Regions from separate parts of the Homo sapiens genome. Here regions 2 and 3 are each linked to region 1. The links are contacts of gene promoters, found by promoter capture Hi-C in human tissues and cell types (Jung and others, 2019). All regions are on one chromosome and are shown on one strand. The core of a region is centred on a gene start or on the middle of the fragment in contact, and the rest is flanking DNA. Distances in the headings are between cores, read along the strand shown.

The links. Contacts are between HindIII fragments. The study calls those that stand out against the background at their distance.
Region 2: a contact is called between the fragment with the promoter of TIMM13 here and the fragment with the promoter of CELF5 in region 1, in 2 of the 25 tissues and cell types used here (dorsolateral prefrontal cortex and stomach).
Region 3: a contact is called between a fragment that was not itself captured here and the fragment with the promoter of CELF5 in region 1, in 2 of the 25 tissues and cell types used here (small bowel and stomach).

The regions. Positions count from the first base shown.
Region 1 is chr19:3,223,239-3,226,020 of GRCh38, reverse strand. CELF5 (CUGBP Elav-like family member 5) reads right to left here and starts at 1,360. Exons shown (of 13, transcript NM_021938.4): 1 at 1,023-1,360. The coding sequence starts at 1,281. RefSeq lists a silencer at 1,420-1,539. The HindIII fragment of the contact is 19,492 bases long and covers 1-2,782 here.
Region 2 is chr19:2,426,336-2,429,117 of GRCh38, reverse strand. TIMM13 (translocase of inner mitochondrial membrane 13) reads left to right here and starts at 1,532. Exons shown (of 3, transcript NM_012458.4): 1 at 1,532-1,704; 2 at 1,794-1,862; 3 at 2,072-2,782. The coding sequence starts at 1,585. The coding sequence ends at 2,170. LMNB2 (lamin B2) reads left to right here. Exons shown (of 12, transcript NM_032737.4): 12 at 1-952. RefSeq lists enhancers at 1,062-1,211, 1,296-2,041, 2,042-2,782 and a silencer at 1,762-1,851. The HindIII fragment of the contact is 21,330 bases long and covers 1-2,782 here.
Region 3 is chr19:2,687,407-2,690,188 of GRCh38, reverse strand. The region is part of intron 1 of GNG7 (G protein subunit gamma 7); the gene reads left to right. Among named protein-coding and RNA genes, the nearest start is that of GNG7, 14 kb to the left of the region's middle. The HindIII fragment of the contact is 8,454 bases long and covers 1-2,782 here.

The DNA.
Region 1 (2,782 bases), core at 111-2,610:
CCAAGGGCTGGGGATACAATTGCCGGACACCCCCACCCGGGATGCCATCGGAGGGAGAATCCAGTGGGAGGGAGGCAGACAGGCCTGAGGCCGCCCACGCCTCCCTCCTCCTCCCTGTCCACCCCAGAATTTGGGCTCTGCCCAGATGGACACGTCCAAGCTCATTGTCTTGGGCCTGAGACCCCAACACATTGCTAAGAGGCTCGGCCAGTTTCAACTTGAGCCCAAGGTGGAGGCGGGGGAGGGGGAGGGCAGAGAAATGGAGGAGAGAATGCTGATCCACGCGGAGGTGGTGGGGCCAGGGGGTGGGCAGCGACGGGAGCCTCTCCGCCACCCGAGGCAGGCGAGGCGGGCGCGTCCCCCCGAGCCGGGCGCCCCCAACCCGTCTTCCTTTGTAGTTACCGATTAGCCTGGGGTCCTGGGCATCCGTGTCCCCCGCGGCCGGACCTGCCCCGCCGGCCTGGCTTTGTGAAAATAACCAAAGCAATGGAGTCCGCAGGTGCAAACTTCCCCGACGGGGCCTGGGGAGGCTGAATGAATGGGGGTGGGGGGGCAGGGAGGGGTGCCGGCGTTCCCGAGGCTCCCCTGGCAAACGGGCAGGAAAGAGTGGGGTGAGGGAGGGAGGAAGGGGTGGGGGTCTGGGGGATGGAAGGGTGAGGGAGGGAGGGAGGGAGAGAGAGGGTGCTGTGGGGGGAAGGATGAGAGGTCGAGGGAGATGGGAGAGAAGAGAAAGGGAGAGAGAGAGGGAGAGAGAGAGGGAGAGAGAGAGGAGATGCCGGAAGGTGGGGAGGGAGGGAGAGGGGGCGGAGGAGGGGAGGGGGCCCGCTCGGATCTGTCAGCTGCACCCCCAGAGAGGGGAGGAGGGGTGGGTGGGAGGGAGGGGGTAAGAACCGATGCTCCGGCAGAGGCAGGCAGAGGAGGGAGGTGAGCAGAGGAGGGATGGTGATGGGGGAGAGAAGATGCCGGAAGGTGGGGTGGGAGGCGGAGGGAGGGGGAGAGGGGGGAGGGGGCCGGGCGCCCACCTTTGTGCATCCCCGTGTAGGGGTCTTTGAGCACCGTGAGCTCGTAGATGCGGCCGAACTGCTCGAAGAGCGGCTTGAGGTCCTTCTCGTCCAGGTGCCGCGGGATCTGGCCCACGAAGAGTTTGATGGCGTCCAGGTCCTTCATGCCGTCGGGCTGCCCCCCGGGGGGCTCGGGCCCGCTGCTGCCCACGGGCGAGGGCCGCGGCTGCAGGAGCTGCTGCTGCTGCCGGCGCGCCTCGCTCTCCGTCAGGCGGGCCATGGCGGGCGCGGGACCGAGCCGGCGGCGGCGGCGGCGGGCGGCGGGCGGACTCGCAGCTGGAGCGGCGGCCGCGCCTCCCGCCTCCCTCCCGGGCCCCCGCGCCCTCCTCCCGCCCGCGCCCGCCCCGGCATCGGGACCACAAAGGCGGCTCCGCAGCGGCCCCTGGCGGCCGCGCCGCGCGGGGCAGCCGGCGCCTCCCCGCATCCCCGGGCCGCGGGGGGAAACTGAGGCCGGAAGGCCCCGGGCCCCGCCTACGGGTGGGCGAGGGCGGAGCTGCGGGCGGGACGGGCCTTAGCCGGCTTCCCAGGGGTCCCCGCCGGCTCCCGCGGAGGGCATCGGCCGGAAGAATGTCAAAAGTTGCTGGGATAATGTAGGGGGCTTGTCGTTGAAAGCGCCCGTGATCCTTAAAGTAGGTAACTCATCAATAATATTAATAACACTAATAATATGGCTGGGCGCGGTGGCTCACGCCTGTCATCTCAGCACTTTGGGAGGCCGAGGTGGGTGGATCACTTGAGGTCAGGAGTTCGAGACCAGACTGGCTAACACGGTGAAACCCCGTCTCTACTAAAGAATACAAAAATTAGCTGGGCTCGGTGGCGGGGGGTGCCTGTAATCCCAGCTACTCGGGAGGCTGAGGCAGGATAATCACTTGAACCCAGGAGGCGGAGGTTGCAGTGAGCCAAGATTGTGCCATTGTACTCCAGCCTGGGCAACAAGAGCAAAACTCCGTCTTGGTAAAAAAAAAAAAAAAAAACACCTAATAATAACAACACTAATAATAATTAATCAAGAGCAAGACAAAGTGCTCCCACTAATCACGACAGCACAGGAGAAATGGTAAAAGTATCTTCCAGTTCTATAGGGTGCTTACACATAGAAAGTGTCCTTGGCCCTTTAAGTATGTAACTCATCAATAATGTCATCAACAAGGAGGGAGACTGGCTCGCACTGATAATGACAGGATAGGAGAAATACTGAAGTATCTCCCAGCTCTAAAGTGCCCGTGATCCTTTACGTATGAAACTCATCAATAATATTAATAAAAATAATAATACGTGCTGGCCGTGGTGGCTCACACCTGTAATCCCAGCACTTTGAGAAGCAGAGTCAGGAGGACCACTTGAGCCCAGGAGTTGGAGACCAGCCTGAGCAACATAGTGAGACGCCATTGCTGTAAAAAATAAGAAAACAGGCCAGGCACGATGGCTCACACCTGTAATCCCAGCACTTTGGGAGGCTGAGGCAGGTGGATCACCTGAGATCAGGAGTTCGAGACCAGCCTGATCAACATGGAGAAAACTCTGTCTCTACTAAAAACACAAAAATTAGCCAGGCATGGTTGTGCATGCCTGTAATCCCAGCTACTCAGGAGGCTGAGGCAGGAAAATCGCTTGAACCCGGGAGGCGGAGATTGCAGTGAGCCGAGATTGCGCCATTGCACTCCAGCCTGGGCAACAAGAGTGAAACTCTGTTTGAGAAAAAAAAAAAAAAAAATCAG
Region 2 (2,782 bases), core at 283-2,782, 800 kb after region 1:
TCCTATGTATTTTGGCTCTGGAGGAGCAAAGCTGTATCCTGGAGTTGGTCTGTGATTTGCCGACAGCCTTGCAGGCTGGGCTCAGGGACAAAGTCCCCCCCAAAACCCGCAGGTCCTCATGTCCAGACGCTGCCCAGTCCTGTCCTGAAAACAGCACGCCCCAGGCCCACAGAACCCCCCACCCTACATTTGCCTTGGGTGGAGCTGGGGGTGGTCCTAGGACTGCGGGTGCCCTTAGCTGAAGGGGGTGGGGAGAAGCGTGGACTGGGCAGCCTGTGGGTAATTGGAGGTTCATTGAGAATTGAGTCTTTGGAAACACTAAGAAAATCAAATTTTTAAAAGTTATTTATGGCCTGGGAAACAATTTGCATTTGTCCCCAAATACGCTTAGCTGTGTGCCGCTTAGAACGATGCGAAACCATCCCTCTGTGTAAGCCCGTGCCGTGTGACTCGAAGCCTAGCGCCCTCCCTGCGAAGCATCAGACGCCACCCAGCCCTGGGGGGAGGCCCACGCCTGCTGGACCAACGCGGGTTCTGGGGTGCACAGCGCCAGGTTAACGCTGAAGCCTGCCCCGCTGAGCCCAGGAGCCGGGAGGCCTGCGGGCTGACCCAGAATCCGATCATGCACCTGTCCTCATGCCAGCGGCTTTGGCTGGGGTTGGTCTGAAGCCTGCACGCGGCAGTTCTTTGTTAAAGATCTGAGGGACTCCTCAGTCCTGGGGCGTCGCCGCCTGCAGCCTCTTCCAAGCCCTGCGTCCAGCGAGCGTCACAGCACAACCTGCAAAAACGGAGCTGGGCTGCAGCTGGGGCTGGCATGGACTTTCATTTCAGAGATTCGGTTTTTAAGAAGATGCATGCCTAATGTGTTCTTTTTTTTTTCCAATGATTTGTAATATACATTTTATGACTGGAAACTTTTTTGTACAACACTCCAATAAACATTTTGATTTTAGGTTCTGCCTCTGAGTTTATTCCTGAGGGGAAGCTCGAGCCGGGGCCTCTGCCCTAATGAAGCGGATGTCTAAGAAAGATCCCTCCACCCCCAAGGAAAAAGGTCACTGGCTAGTGTAGCTAGTGTAAACAGGACCCAGGCGATGCATGGGACCCTGCCCTTTTTTTTCTAGTGAGCCTCCGACGCTGTTGCACAAGCTGACTCTTCGTCACGTGATGCGACCGGGCTCCGCCCCGGCGGCAACACGCTGTATAGACGCGCCGGGTGCCTCGTGCGCATGCGCGGCAGGCCCTTCGGGACGAGCTGGAGGCAGAGCGTGAGTACAAAGTGATCGGCCTCGGCCGCACGTAGTAGCCCCCCTACTCCCCGGCCAAGTCAGGGCCTCCCTCTTCCCGCGGAGTCGCAACCACGGGTAGCTCGTGTAGGTAACGGCAGGTCCAGGCCTCCGCATGAGCGGAGGGCCCCCCGCGCGACCTTGAATGGCCCGGGCGCGCGCGGTCGTGTGGGAGTTGTAGTCCTCCGTCCCCGTCCGCGCGGACTCCGTTTCCCGTGGTGCCCCGGGCGGCCCGCTTCCGGCGCAGTTAGTTACGAGTCGGCGCACGCGGCCTCGGTCCGGTTGACTTTGCGGAGCCATGGAGGGCGGCTTCGGCTCCGATTTCGGGGGCTCCGGCAGCGGGAAGCTGGACCCAGGGCTCATAATGGAGCAGGTGAAAGTGCAGATCGCCGTGGCCAACGCGCAGGAGCTGCTGCAGGTGCGGGGCTGGCCGGGGACGGGCGCTGGGGGCGACAGGGCCACCCCTGGGGGCCGACGTCGCGGCTAAAGCCTCGCGTGTCTCCACAGAGGATGACGGACAAGTGTTTCCGGAAGTGTATAGGGAAACCTGGGGGCTCCCTGGACAACTCCGAGCAGGTGAGACCCGCGGAGGTTCGGGGCAAGGGTCGCGAGGGCCTAGATTCGAGGGGGGAGGTGTCTGCGCGTGCGCAGACTAACGGGGAGGTGCGACGGAGTGGTCACTGCACGTGCGTAGTCTGCAGCCCGGGCGTCCTGGAGCCGGGGTCAGGGCGGTCCCCGGGGCCGCGAAGTCCCGAGCTGAGCCGTGCGCCCCTCCGCTCCCGCAGAAGTGCATCGCCATGTGCATGGACCGCTACATGGACGCCTGGAACACCGTGTCTCGCGCCTACAACTCGCGGCTGCAGCGGGAACGAGCCAACATGTGACCGGCGAGCGCGGGCCACCCCACCCTGTTCATTTCCATAAACGTGCTTTGAGAGGCGGGGTCCGCATGTACGTACTGCCTGCCCGGGGCTTAGGAGGGTGGCACCGGTGCTGGGACACACGGGACTGTGTCCTCGCCACCCCCCGCCCTGCCCCCTGCCAGCCAGTGCAGCTTGGATCTCGGGGGTGTGGGGCCCTGTGCCTTCCTGAAGTGCTGGCAGCCCAGTGGCACCTCCTTCAGGCCTTTGGGGTATTCCCCTAGTGTGCCCAAGTCAGCCTCATATTCTGGGCGGACAGCTTGTCTGGACTTCGGAGTTGGGGGTGGTCAGACACCACAGGAGCTGTCACCTCCTGCGGATGGGCAAATAAATTGGTGGAGGACGGAGAGAAACCTCTTTATTTCCCTCCTGAGGGGTCTCTGGGAAGAGGTGACGCGTGTCCCTGGAACCCCAGCTCGGAGGGTCTCAGCCTCCCCTGGGTTGGGAGAAGTCCATCTTTCCCCTTAGTGCCACCGGGCTGCTGAGTCACGAGGAATGTGTTGCTGCTGCCACCCCTGCCCCAAAGGCTAAGGGGGACAGCCTTCCCCTTGTCAGGGCTTGCTTTGACCCTGCTTC
Region 3 (2,782 bases), core at 166-2,665, 540 kb after region 1:
GCTGGTCTCGAACTCCTGACCTCAAGTGATCCTTTCGCTTCGGCCTCCCAAAGTGCTGGGATTACAGACGTGAGCCACCGTGCCCGGCCTCCATTTTTAAATGGTTGGAAAAAAAAGTCAAAGGAAGCCCTGCTTCTACCCGCCGCCAAAAGAAGCAAAAAACAAAAGTCAAAGAAAAGGCCATGACACATGACAATTATATGGCATTCAGATTTTAGTGTCCAGAAATAATGTTTTATTGGCACACTGCTCTGTGTATTCTGCTACCATGGTGTAGTTAAGTCGTTGCCGTAGAGAGTGGCTCCACCGCAAGGCTGAAAACACTGGGTATCTGGACTCTTACCGAAAAAGCGTGTTGGCCCTCGAGTCCATCTCGCACGCTTTATGCATGGGAAAACTGAGGTCTGGAGGTTTCACGAGTTAGTGGTCATGCTGGGACTTGATCTTGGAACTTTGTACTTTAGCATTTGTCATGTCATTTCAGCCTCTGTGTTGTCAGAGCTCTAACAGTTAACTTCAGAGAATTGCATCGAATATGGTTTTTTTTTTTTTTTTTTTTTTTTTTTGAGTTGGAGTCTCACTCTGTAGCCCAGGCTGGAGTGCAATGGCGCCATCTCAGCTCACTGCAGCCTCCGCCTCCCAGGTTCAAGTGATCCTCCTGCCTTAGCCTCCTGAGTAGCTGGGATTACAGGCGTCCACCACCACACCCGGCTATTTTTTGTATTTTTAGTAGAGACGGGGTTTCACCATGATGGCCAGGCTGGTCTCGAACTTCTGACCTCAGGTGATCCACCCGCCTTGGCCTCCCAAAGTGCTGGGAGGCCCACCGAGCCCGGCCCAAATGTGGTCTTGTTAGGAGCGTTTATTCCTGTAGCCTCCATAATGAGAAGGGCTTAATGATTTGGGAACAATTTTATATAATTATTTTTTTTCCCCTATAACACGGTGCCATGCATAGTATGATTGGCATTTTTTTCCCCCTTTTTTTTTGCATTATTTTTATTTTTGTTTATTTTTTTCTTATTTATTTATTTATTGTATGTATTTATTATGTTGGGGCAAACATAATTGTGGTCTTTGCCATTAAAAGTAATATTTTTTAAATTTACATTTACATTTTTTTTTGAGACAGAGTCTTACTCTGTCGCCCAGGCTAAGTGCAGTGGAGTGATCATGGCTCACTGTAGCCTCCAACTCCTGGGCTCAAGCGATCCTCCCACCTCAGCCTCCTGAGTAGCTGGGACCACAGGCACGCAACCCCGTGCCTGGCTAATTTTTGTTTTATTGTAGAGATGAGGTCTCGCTATTTTGCCTAGGCTGGTCTCGAACTCCTGAACACAAGTGATCCTGCCACCCCGGACTCCCAAAGTGTTAGGAGGACAGACGGGAGCCACTGTGCCCGGCTAACAATGGGTTCATTTCTCTCAACTCCACACTTTATTCAAATGTCATTAATCTTCCCCTAATGTCCTTTCCTGCCCCAGGACCCATCTAGAATCCCACGTGACATTTAGCCGGCTCGTCTCCGGGGGTTCTTCCAGGTTGGGACCATGTCTTAGATGTTCGTTACCTCTCGTGACCTGGACGGTCTTAGGGGGACCGGCTGGGTATTGTGCAGACTTACTTCTGATCTAGGTTTGTCAGATATTTCTCTCGTGATCAGACCGGGGTTACGGGTTTCGGGAAAGAACACGTAGGGGTGAGGTGCCCTGTTGCTCTCTCCCTGCTGGGGATCCTTGAGACCCTGGTGACTTCCTACTGGTGCTGTTAACCTGGTTCTCCCAGCCCAGGTGGCCTTAGCCCACCTACCAGCTACTCTGAGGTCATTCTTGCTGAGGGAACTCCCCACTTCCCCAGAGCACTGACACCGACTCCATCCTTCGTACGGCAAACTTTGCTTTTCATCTTTGCATCATGATTTCTTTTTTCTTTTGTTGAGACGGAGTCTCGCTCTGTCGCCCAGGCTGGAGTGCAGTGGCGCGATCTTGGCTCACTGCAAGCTCCACCTCCTGGGTTTACACCATTCTCCTGCCTCAGCCTCCCGAGTAACTGGGACTACAGGCACCCGCCACCATGCCCGGCTAATTTTTTGTTATTTTTAGTAGGGACGGGGTTTCACCGTGTTAGCCAGGATAGTCTCGATCTCCTGACCTTGTGATCTGCCCAGCTCGGCCTCCCAAAGTGCTGGGATTACAGGCGTGAGCCACCGCGCCCGGCTATTTTATCTGGAGGCAGAGTTTTGTTCTTGTTGCCCAGGTTGGAGTACAGTGGCACGATCTCAGCTCACTCAGGTTCAACTGATTCTCCTGCCTCAGCCTCCCAAATAGTTGGGATTACAGGTGCGTGCCACCTTGCCCGGCTAATTTTTTGTATTTTTAGTAGAGATGGGGTTTCGCCGTGTTGGCCAGGCTGGTCTCGAACTCCTGACCATGTGATCTGCCTGCCTCGGCCTCCCAAAGTGCTGGAATTACAGGCGTGAGCCACCGCGCCCGGCATCATGATTTAAACTTCTTGGCCAGGCTGGTGGCTTACTCCTGTCATGCCAGCACTTTTTTTTGTTTGTTTGTTTTTTGAGATGGAGTTTCACTCTTGTTGCCCAGGCTGGAGTGCAATGGTGCGATCTCGGCTCACCGCAACCTCTGCCTCCCGGGCTCAAGCGATTCTCCTACCTCAACCTCCCAACTAGCTGGGATTACAGGCATGGGCCACCATGCCTGGCTAATTTTGTATTTTTAGTAGAGGCAGGGTTTCTCCATGTTGGCCAGGCTGGTCTCGAACTCCT